2 separate regions of the Homo sapiens genome follow, and region 2 is linked to region 1. The links are contacts of gene promoters, found by promoter capture Hi-C in blood cells and fetal thymus (Javierre and others, 2016). All regions are on one chromosome and are shown on one strand. Each heading gives the region's core, a stretch centred on a gene start or on the middle of the fragment in contact. The rest is flanking DNA. Distances are from core to core; before and after follow the strand shown.

What was found. The method cuts DNA at HindIII sites, captures the fragments that hold promoters and counts their contacts. A CHiCAGO score of 5 or more calls a contact.
Region 2: a contact is called between a fragment that was not itself captured here and the fragment with the promoter of PRKCZ in region 1, in 1 of 17 cell types (naive CD8 T cells). The highest score is 5.8, in naive CD8 T cells.

The regions. Positions count from the first base shown.
Region 1 is chr1:2,047,432-2,052,278 of GRCh38, forward strand. PRKCZ (protein kinase C zeta) reads left to right here and starts at 2,980. Exons shown (of 18, transcript NM_002744.6): 1 at 2,980-3,270. The coding sequence starts at 3,200. It overlaps PRKCZ-DT (PRKCZ divergent transcript), which reads right to left and starts at 2,639. Exons shown (of 3, transcript NR_135509.1): 1 at 2,437-2,639; 2 at 2,167-2,235; 3 at 1,770-2,037. LOC105378590 (a long non-coding RNA gene) reads right to left here and starts at 16. Exons shown (of 4, transcript XR_007065357.1): 1 at 1-16. RefSeq lists an enhancer at 1-622 and a silencer at 2,558-3,167. The HindIII fragment of the contact is 10,768 bases long and covers 1,854-4,847 here.
Region 2 is chr1:2,636,325-2,641,171 of GRCh38, forward strand. It overlaps TTC34 (tetratricopeptide repeat domain 34), which reads right to left. Exons shown (of 9, transcript NM_001242672.3): 9 at 662-4,847. MMEL1-AS1 (MMEL1 antisense RNA 1) reads left to right here. Exons shown (of 3, transcript NR_183343.1): 3 at 32-296. Among named protein-coding and RNA genes, the nearest start is that of MMEL1, 5.7 kb to the left of the region's middle. RefSeq lists a silencer at 1,713-1,913. The HindIII fragment of the contact is 158 bases long and covers 1,604-1,761 here.

The sequences.
Region 1 (4,847 bases), core at 1,730-4,229:
GAGGACCTAGGAACCTCCCTGTGACCTGCCCTGCCTGCCCAGAGGCGGGTCCAGGGCCTCCCAGGCCTTTGTTTTGCAGATCTCATTAGCGGAGACCTCTGCCTCCTGGAGGGGAGGCCAGAGCAGGTACTGGGGGAGGTTTTGGGGACGTTTTGGGCAGCCCCTGTGCCCGCAGTCCTCTGCTAGAGCCTTTCGGAACCTGTGTCTGTCCCGACCCCCCCTCCACCGGCGGCATCAGGGCTGAACAAAGTCTGACACTGGGGTTGACCATCCACTGACGTTGCCCTCTCCCTCCCAACCCCAGAGAGAATAGAGCCCCGCCCCCCACCTTCCCTCGCTGGGACTGGGGCACTGCCACGGCCCTGGGACTGGCTTCCAGGACGGAGGCTCCCGCCTGGCAGCACAGATCTCCCCAGGGAGGCCAGTGCCGAGGGCCTGACCCAGCAGGGGCGTCCTTGGTTAGAAAGGGTCCTCCGGGGCCTTGGGTGGGGCAGGCCCAGGGAGAGATGTCCAGTGACAGGGAAGGACACAACCGAGGGTCCGTCCTGCCTGCTGTGGGCAGTGGTATCAAGGACCGGGCCTTGCTGCCTCCTTGGATCAGAACGCCAGCCAGGAAGTCCTGTGGGTGCCCAGTGGCCCCTTCCAGGCACCGCCCCACTAAGGTGAAACCCTGCTCTTTCCTGCCCATCAGGAAGCGCCCAGGCCATGTTGCCAGGCCAGACTCCAGACAAGGCCACAGCCCTGGCCATGGGGCCTGGAGTGGGGGAGCTGGGCCGACGGGTGCCTGAATCCAGGGCTGCTGCAGGTGCAGGTTCCCACTCATCACTGTACCCTGCCAGGCTGCCCCCTCACCCTCTACTCTCTGCCCCCCTTCATGCCCAGCTGATGGGCATGGGGCTTTGTGCCTGTGCGAGGGATAGAGGGGGTTGCCCCATGGAGATGGGGGTGAGGAGTAGATTGCTGAAATGGGCATTAGGTATGCTAGAGACTTCAAGGAAGTGTGGGTGCCAGTCCAGCAGATCTCTGCAGGCAGGTGCTCCTGGAAGAGGGAGTGGCTGTGCAAAGAGGGAGTGGCCGTGCAAAGACGGAGGCCGGGGCAGCAAAGAGGCCTCGAGGCCGGGGCAGAGGAGCTGGCCTTCCCTCCAGGAGTGATGGGAACCACTGGGGGGACTTCGATGACCCAGAAAGATGGAGTGGGGGAAGACGTCAGCTGAGAGGCTCATTAGGAGGATGCCTGGGGCTGGGTGAGTGTTGGTTGGGAGCTCAGGGGGCCCATCTGAGCTGGGGATGCAAAGCGGGCCAAAGGCTGAGGCTGGGGCTCCACAGTTTTAAAAGCTGCAGACCAGGAGGGCGAGGGATGGGAGATTTAGGGAGCTGGAACCCGGGGCCAGGGATGTGTGAGCCTTCCCAGGAGGGGTCTGATACCAAAGGCCAAGTTAAGAAAATGTCTGAGGCCGGGCACAGTGGCTCACGCCTGTAATCCCAGCACTTTGGGAAGCCAAGGCAGGTGGATCACCTGAGGTCAGGAGTTCGAGACCAGCCTGGCCAATATGGAAAAACCCCGTCTCTACTAAAAATACAAAAATCAGCTGGGCATGGTGGTGGACACCTGTAATCCCAGCTACTTGGGAGACTGAGGCAGGAGAATGGTTTGAACCCAGGAGGCAGAAGTTGCAGTGAGCCGACATCATGCCATTGCACTCAGCCTGGGCAGCAAGAGCGAAACTCCATCTCAAAAAAAAGAAAAAGAAAGAAAAAAAGAGAAAACGTCTGAGAACCGACGGCTTGTATTTAAAACGTGTGAGTGGGTGGTGGCAGGAGAGGTAGACAGGGAGCAGGGCCGGCTTGGCGGAAGCTTTGCTGTAGAGAGGGGCAGAGATGGCTCGGTGGGTGGAGGGAGGGGCAAACGGTGTTTAAGAAGAAAAAACGACAGCTTCTGCGTAGGAGAGGGGCCTCCTGTCCATCTCCAGGGAGAACATGGGTTCTGTGGCCACAGGTCTCCCCAGGGCCTGGCATCAAGGAGGCGCCAGGCACGACCTGCGGGATGAAAGCACGTGGCTGAAGTCCTGGTGGCTGTGTCTGGGTGAGGGGTGTGAGGGCGTGGCCTGAGCAGGTCCACTCTCAGGGGAGAGGGGCCGAGGCCAGGAACTGGGTCTGGGTGTCCACCTGGTGCCTGGGTGAGGTCCTGCAGGCAGCAGGTCTGGGCTTCAGTGGATGCAGCCAGTAAGGGATGGGCTGATCAGGGAAAACCGTATTTTCAGGGGAGGAGCCCAGGAGGCAGGGAGCTGGGCGGCGGTGGAGGGGCCTGGAGGGCGATTGTCCAGATCAAGCCCCTCGAGTAAGGCCCGAGAGGCTGTGGCTTCAGAAATGAAGGTCATGGGCGACTCGGGCCAATGCCGCGTCCTTGACCTGGGCGAAGTGAGCGGTTGCACTCACGAGTGTGGACGGCCCTTCCCTACAGGGGACCTTGGATTCGCTGGGGGCGGAGTGGGGGCTGGGGCCCAGAGAACCCGAGTCCGGACGCTCCCGTCCGTGACCCTGGCCGGGTTCTCCGCTCCTCGCAGCTTCAGTCCGCAAGTGTGAGATGTCAGGGGACCCCTGGACGGCGGGGCCCTCGGGCTGGCAGCGCGCGCCGCAGGAGTTTCGATTCGGAGGGTCTGGGCGAAGGCCGAGAACTCGCGTTTCCAGCGAGTTCCCGGGGGCGCCGCTCCGTCCCAGAGGCCGGGGCCCCTCCGGTTGCCGGGCAGAGCCGCGCCGCGCGCGGTCCCATTGGCGCAGGTGCGCCGCGCCCCGCCCAACAGGTAGCCCCGCCCGACAGGTAGCCCCGCCCGCGCCTCGCCATTGGGCCGCGGCCGGGTGTCCCCCGAGGATTGGCCCAGGTGGCGGCCCCGCCTCGCCCTCATTGGCCGCAGGTGCCACCGCCCGCCCCGGGACCGCCCGCCCCGCGGATTGGCCGCTGGCTCCACCTCGGTCCGCCATGTTCGGACACCGCCCCCCGCCCCCGCCGGACGGTCCCGCCCCGCGCGCCCCCCGCTCCCGCCCCGCGCGCCGCCGGAGTTCCGCGGAGTTGACCGGGTCGGCGCCGTCGGTCCTGAGCGCTGCCTTCCGCGTTCCGCCGCGGCCCCACCTGGAGCCCCCGCCCCGCGCCATGGCCGGAGCTCCCGGGGCGCAGCGCTGACGGCGGCGGGGGGAGCGCGCCATGCCCAGCAGGACCGGCCCCAAGATGGAAGGGAGCGGCGGCCGCGTCCGCCTCAAGGCGCATTACGGGGGGTGAGCGGCGGAGAGGGCGGGGAGCGGCGCGGGTGAGGCAGGGAGGGCGGGGAGGGCTCAGCCGTCGGGGCTCCTGCGCGAGAGGGAGAGAGGGAAGGGGCGGCGAGGTCGCTGCGGGCCCGGGGCTGTCGCGGGAGGTCCTCGGTCCCCGCCCGTGAGCGTCACCCGCGGACACGTCGTGGACAGCGCGGGCTCCTTCCCCGGGACCGGGTTTCCCTGGGGTCGGCCCCGCGCCGCGAGCTCCTCGGCCCGGTCATTGTGGTAGACGTTTTCGCTGGAAAGTTGGGCGGGGACGTTCCGGCCGCAAACCTGTAAGGACTGAAAGTTTTCATCAAGTTGTGAAAACTCCTGGCGGGTTTCTTAAAATCAGCGTTTCCTAAACGTTCTCCACGTTTACCCGGTCGGGGGTCTCGCTTTAGCCAAAATCCGGAGACCCGGGGCGCGGGCGCTGTGGCTCCAATGCAGCCCCCGGCAGGGCTCGGGGCGGTCGGGCGGGGACAGGGGTTTCTGGAGGAGACGGTGGGGCCGAGACTGACCCTGGGGTTTGCGTCGCACCCGCCCCCCGGAGGCCCTTGCCTGGCTGTGGGAGGGGGCGCGGTCAGGTGCTGGAGCGGAGGGGTCCTGGACTCTTGGCCGCCGCCTCGGGGCAGCGCTGCTGGGGGTGGCGGGGGCTGCACCAGGTGGCCGGGCTCACAGGCACAGCGGAGGGGTCGCTGCCCCCCGAAGTGTGGGCGGTGGGGAGGGGAGGACCCGTGGGTTTGTTCTTCCACCTGTGCGCGTCTCCAGGAGCCCCGAACTGGGACCTCCGCTCCCGCGAGGGTGGCTGCTGCTGCAGAGAGGGAGGGGAGCAGAATGCGGGCTCCGGACTTGCACTGGCTGGTCCTTGGGATCTCGAAAAGCTGCTCCTGCCCCGGTGCGTCCTCAGCTACAGCGTGGGCAACCTGAGCCCCAGAGGCAGGGACGGCCGGCAGGGTTAGGCGGGTGACAACTTCCCCGGGCCACGTCCTCTCAGGACAGTGCCCCGGGGGTCTCTATGGTGCCCTGCGAGTCTGAGCGGGTTCAGCTTCCTGCGAACCTTGTCTTGGGGTCTCGGGTCAGCCATCTGGGGCTGCTTGGCCCCGGGTTTGTTGAGGAGGCTCAATTGTCTCTTCTTTGGGAAGGTTGGGGCCTCTGCAGCTCCCCTGTGGCAAGCACCTGGAACCTTCGGGGTGCAGTGGCCCGGGTTTGGTGCCAGAACCAGAAGAAAGGGATTTCTGGGGGACTGACCGTCCAGCCCTACCTGAAGAGGTAGGGCAGCCATGTCTTTTGGCCTGGAGGTCAGCAGGTTAAAACTTGGTATGGTTGACGTTCTGGCTATTGGACTTGTCCAGGGACCTGGGCTTCCTGTCTCCTTGCCATTCTGGAGCCACCACACTGGGCAACAGGTGATGGTGCGGAGCTCAGGGGAGTCCTGCGAGAGGGAGGTCCACACCCGAGGGGCTGCAGGGGCCCAGACCCTCCTGCATTCCGGCGTCCAATTCCTGGGACCAAGGCTCGGAGGCAATGCCACTGGAGTTCTGGGCCGCCCCGTCCTCCCT
Region 2 (4,847 bases), core at 433-2,932, 590 kb after region 1:
AAAAGGTTTTTTTTTTTTCTTTTTTTTCCAGATTGATCGCAGAGTTGAACAACAGAGAATGTGTGCACAGTGCCAGGCACAGGTGTGGTCAAGATTCACCTGGGAGAGGAAGTGGGCAGGGGCAGAGGAGTGTGCCCACCTGAGCTGAAAGGCTGCATGGCAGGTGACCATTATCACCAGTGTCGCCAGCCAGGTCACCTCTCTGAATTTTGTGGTTGCAACCTCCATGATTCCCTAGAGCTGTTTTTACCCAGAACTAATGAAAAATTCTGCACATTAAATTCATGCTATTAGAATCACTGTTGTGGTTTCCATCTCCCAAGTAGACCCCAACTGATACATAAATTCATACTAGGAGGGGGTCCCCAGAGACAGGCCCTCAAAGTGACACAGTCAGGTACCTCTTTGGTCACTTTGCCAGCCAGGTACCTCTGGCTGCTGACACCCCCCCTCCCCAGGCCTCTCTTGGCCATGCTACCTGCCGCAGGAGGTGGCCCACCCACTCAGCCTGCCTGGGCCACACCTGGCTGTTCACCAGCTCAGCCTGTGGCTGGGCTGGGCATGTTCCAGCCTGCTTGTGTTATAGCTTGTACCCATGTATGGCAGTTCCCAAGTTCTTGTCCCGTGTCCAAGAAGAATGAGGAGATGCTGCCAATCGAAGTGTGAGAAGGGCAGAGAAGAATTTTATTGAGAGACGGAACAGCTCTCAGCAGAGAGGGGATGCACGGGTGGTTCCCGACCTGAAGTCAGGTGGTTTCTCTCCTAGTGTGGCTGGGTCCGGGGCATTTATGGGCTCAGAATGGGGGAGTGCATGCTGATTGGCTTCTGATTATGCAAAAAAGGCTTAAACAAAGGTACCACTCAAAGGTGGGCATGCCAGTGTAGAAAATGAATTAGGAAAAGATAGGTACATGTAAAATAGGTGAAGGGTGGGGATCAATCAGAGGAAAGCAGCCAAATGGGAAGATGGGTTCTCAATCCAGGCTGAGGATTTAATTTGTAGCTTGGCTTTCAGGCTTTAAACTGTCTTTGGCTCGGAGGTGGGGTTTCACTGGGAACCTGTCCCTGTCTGCCTAGGATTTGTCTGCCTCCTGTCACTATCAAAAGGTGGGGTCCGGGGATTAGGTTAGTGTGGTTGTTGCTTGGGCTGGGCTGCAGGCCGATCTCCTGGCCAGTGGGAAGGGGAGGCTGTTGGCCCACAGTGTTGTTGGGGGAGCTTCACAGTTAACCAAGCCATCCCCCATGCTGGCTGTGAGGCACCAGCAGAATTGAGGGCCTCGGGAACCCACGTGCTGCTGTGTGAGGCTGTCACGGCCACGAGGATGACCACAACCACGAGGGCTGTGGGGGGTCCCCTGAGTGTCCAGCAGCACTAACAGGAAGGAACCACACGTTCAGGTCTCTAAACTCAGTTTAAGTCATAGACAGAGAATCAGGACTGCCATGGCCATGGAAGAGTCCCTTGTTCCTGAGAGCCTCGGGGCTGCTGCTGCTACAACTCGGATGCACAGTTTAACTCTGAGTTGTGTGACTGCTGTGTGGCTCACACTCACAGCCTCACTACTGAAACGTGGGCACTGAGTGGGAAGGAACTGGATGCTGAAGCTTGGCATGGGGATGTCTGGTTGGGCTCAGATGAAGCTGAGAATTGTGAACCCCCTGGTTCTCTGAGCCTCTCCTTCCAGGGGAAGCAGCTTGTCCTCCAAGATCTGAGAGTAGCCTTTATTTATTTTTTTTGTTCTGCTTGAAAATGCTGTGATAAGCTTACCTGGCCAGGTGCCTAGAAATGATGCTCATTTTATTTAACCACCATAGCCACCCTGTTGCCTCTAGAACCTCAGTGTACTCCCAGGGAGGGGAAGGGTCAAGTACAAAGCCTGACTCAGGAAGGAACCACTTTCACACCAAAATGCTCGTAAGATGTTACAAATTCACACACGGAGACCTGGGAACCGTGTGGGAATGGAGGGTAGGGTATTAATGCAGCTGGACCGGCTTGGCTTTATTGATGCAGGTACACTTACTAGAGATTCTGAATTTAATGCGCTAGCTCACATTAGCTGCTGGAAATGACTCTACCAGTTTACTTGGTTGAATGAAATCTGGATTTGCTGGCGGTCTACAGTTAATGAAGGGGAGATGCTGGAATGTCCCTGGTGTAACGTCGAGGCAGGAATCGTGCAAAGCAAGGGCCACCCTCCGTCCCAGCCTGATTTCTCTCCACCTCCAGCTGAGCACTGAGGAAGACGCAGGCCGGGGACTGCCCAGGGAAGTGGTGGATCTGCAGACAGCGTGAGCTCCTGGAGCGTCAGGACCCAGAGCAGCTGTGGACATGCCCCTCCAGGCGGGACACCCAGGCCTCAGGGACGAGTGCGTCCATGCCTTAAGGGCTGCTGGTTGTGGGTGTCTGCTTGGTCCTGGAGAAACTACCTCAGGAAAAGCCAGGGCTGGACCCCAGCAGGGATGGGATAAGGGGAACCGAGACTCACCCACTGTGCTCAGGGCAGAGGTGGTGGGCCGCGGGAACGGGCATGTCTTTGTCTATCTGGACTGCCCCAACAGAATAGCAGAGACAGGTGGTTCATCAACAGATACTTATTTCTCACAGTTCTGGAGGCTGGAAGCCCAAGATGAAGGTGCCAGCTCGCTCTCTAGTGAGGATCCCTTCCTGGTTCACAGACAGCTTCTCACTGGGTCTCCACATGGTGGAGGGGCTTGGGAGAACTCTGGGGTCTCTTTTATAAGGACACTAATCCCACTCATGAGGTTCCACCCCTGGTCATCTCCCAAAAGCCCCACTTCTGATACCATAACCTTGGGGGTTAGGATCGCAACACATAAAGTTTGGGGGAATGCAGACATTCAGAGCCCAGCAAGGAGCCAGGCCAAAGGCTGATGAGAGATACCTGCTGGGTGAGCTGGTGGTAGAGGGGGCAGCCCCCTGGTGGGGGAGAAACACAGCGATCCTGAGGTCCAGGAGGAGCCTCAGCGGGGCTGGCATCTACACTCAGCCTTGCACGGATGGATGGGGCAGGACATCCCAGGCGAGGAGGACGGTAGGAGCAGGGAACGTGGTGGGGAAGGGCACCCCTAGGGGACGCCTCCCCACTGCCTCCACCTGGCCCCGACATTGGAGCAGGCCCTTCTGCTGTGACCAGGCTCTCTGGACCAGCCCTTGCCTCCTCTGCCTCAGTGCCGACTGGCCCACCTGACCCGAGGAACTTGCGTGTCCCTGAACTTAGCTCTTGGGCTGCTGACAGGTGTTTGTTGAGTCCTTGAGCACACGGGTGAAGACAGGGAGGGAAGGGTGGATGGGGAGCTGGCAGGCGGAAGATGGATCAAATTGGTGCCTGCGCTGGGGAACCCCGGAAGAGGGGGACTGCGTGAAGATTCCGAGCGGGGAAGGCGAGGAGCGGGGCTGAAGGTCCCTGTCAGGGCCCTCTCCCACTGTGGGCTGCCCATCCCCGAGGTACTCAAGGTGGGAGGCACTGACCCTTTACCCAGACCCCTGTGGCCAGAGACACATAGGCGGTGCCAGCTGATGAAGGTGCATGGGGGTTGAGGAGTGGGTGAGGCCTGAGGAGGAGGGGGGCTACCCAGCCCTGCACCTGCCGCCTGGGGGCCCCACTTCCATGCAGGGCGAGGAATAGGGCCCCTCCCTGCCTGACCCCCTGGACTGGGGTTCGTCAGATGATCCCAGAAGCGAAGTGGGTGGAGAGGCAGGGGGTCTATCTGTGGGTTCAAGACCATGGAAGGAAGCGGCAGAGAAGGGGACAGAAATGGGACAAATGCAAGTGCCCAGGAGGAGAGAGAAGCCAGGAGGGGGGGTCGTGGCCCTGTCTCCCCAGGGTGAAGTCAGGCAGGGCTTGGGGGCACGTTTTGCACCGAGTCAGCTCACCCAGCATGTCTCTCGCCCATGGCCATGAGAGAAAGCCCCGGGCTGAGGCCTCAGTCTGTGACACTCACAGTGATGGGCAAAGGCTGGCTGCCTCTGCCCCACCCAGAAGTCCCCAAGCTCACTGGCAGCTGCAAGGCCTGGGGACATTTAACGCACGTATAAGAACAAGCTGTTCTCTCGCTCTGTGGAAGCACTGATACCTCCCAGCAGCTTCGGGAGACAGGTCTGGTGGGAGCCTGGGGACTGTGCTCATCAGGGCCCCTCGGTGGTCCCTCTGCTTGGAAGGGAGGGGCCTGTGGAGGAGGGAGGAAGTTTACCCCCAGCACACTGGATTCTCGATGAAGGGCCCCCATGAAAGCACCCTGAAAGGTCAGCTTGGGGTATGGGCTGGCTGGGCCCATTTGGGAGCTCTGTCTCTGGAGAGGGCTCAGGCTCTACTGGAGGCTGGCCCAAGGCTCAGGGTCCAAGCAAAACGCAGCTTCACACCCAGGGAGGGGCTTCTGGGGCTGGTACCATCTCCCCAAGGGCCCCAGGAGTCTGGCCTCAAACCTGTCCAACCTGTAGGATCCCAGGCCAGGGACGAGACCTGGGGCTGCTTCTTCAAGGTCTGAGCCCCAGGTGTGGGCCAAGAGGGCCCCAACTGCAGGGACCAGGTTGCTGGTGGTAGAAGGGACTGTGAAGCTTCTAGGATGGTCCCTTCATGCAAGTAGGAAGCTGTCCCCTGTCCTTCCCAAGGCAGAGGTGTGAGGCTGGCTGTCCAACACTGACTCATGCTGGGGCAGGGAAGCGGGGTGTGGGGAGGGCAGGGAAGGGGGGTGTGGGGAGGGCTGGGAAGGGAGGTATGGGGAGGGCTGGGAAGGGAGGTATGGGGAGGGCTGGGAAGGTGGTGTGGGGAGGGCTGGGAAGGGGGAGGGCTGGGAAGGGGTGTGTGGGGAGGGTGGGAAGGGGG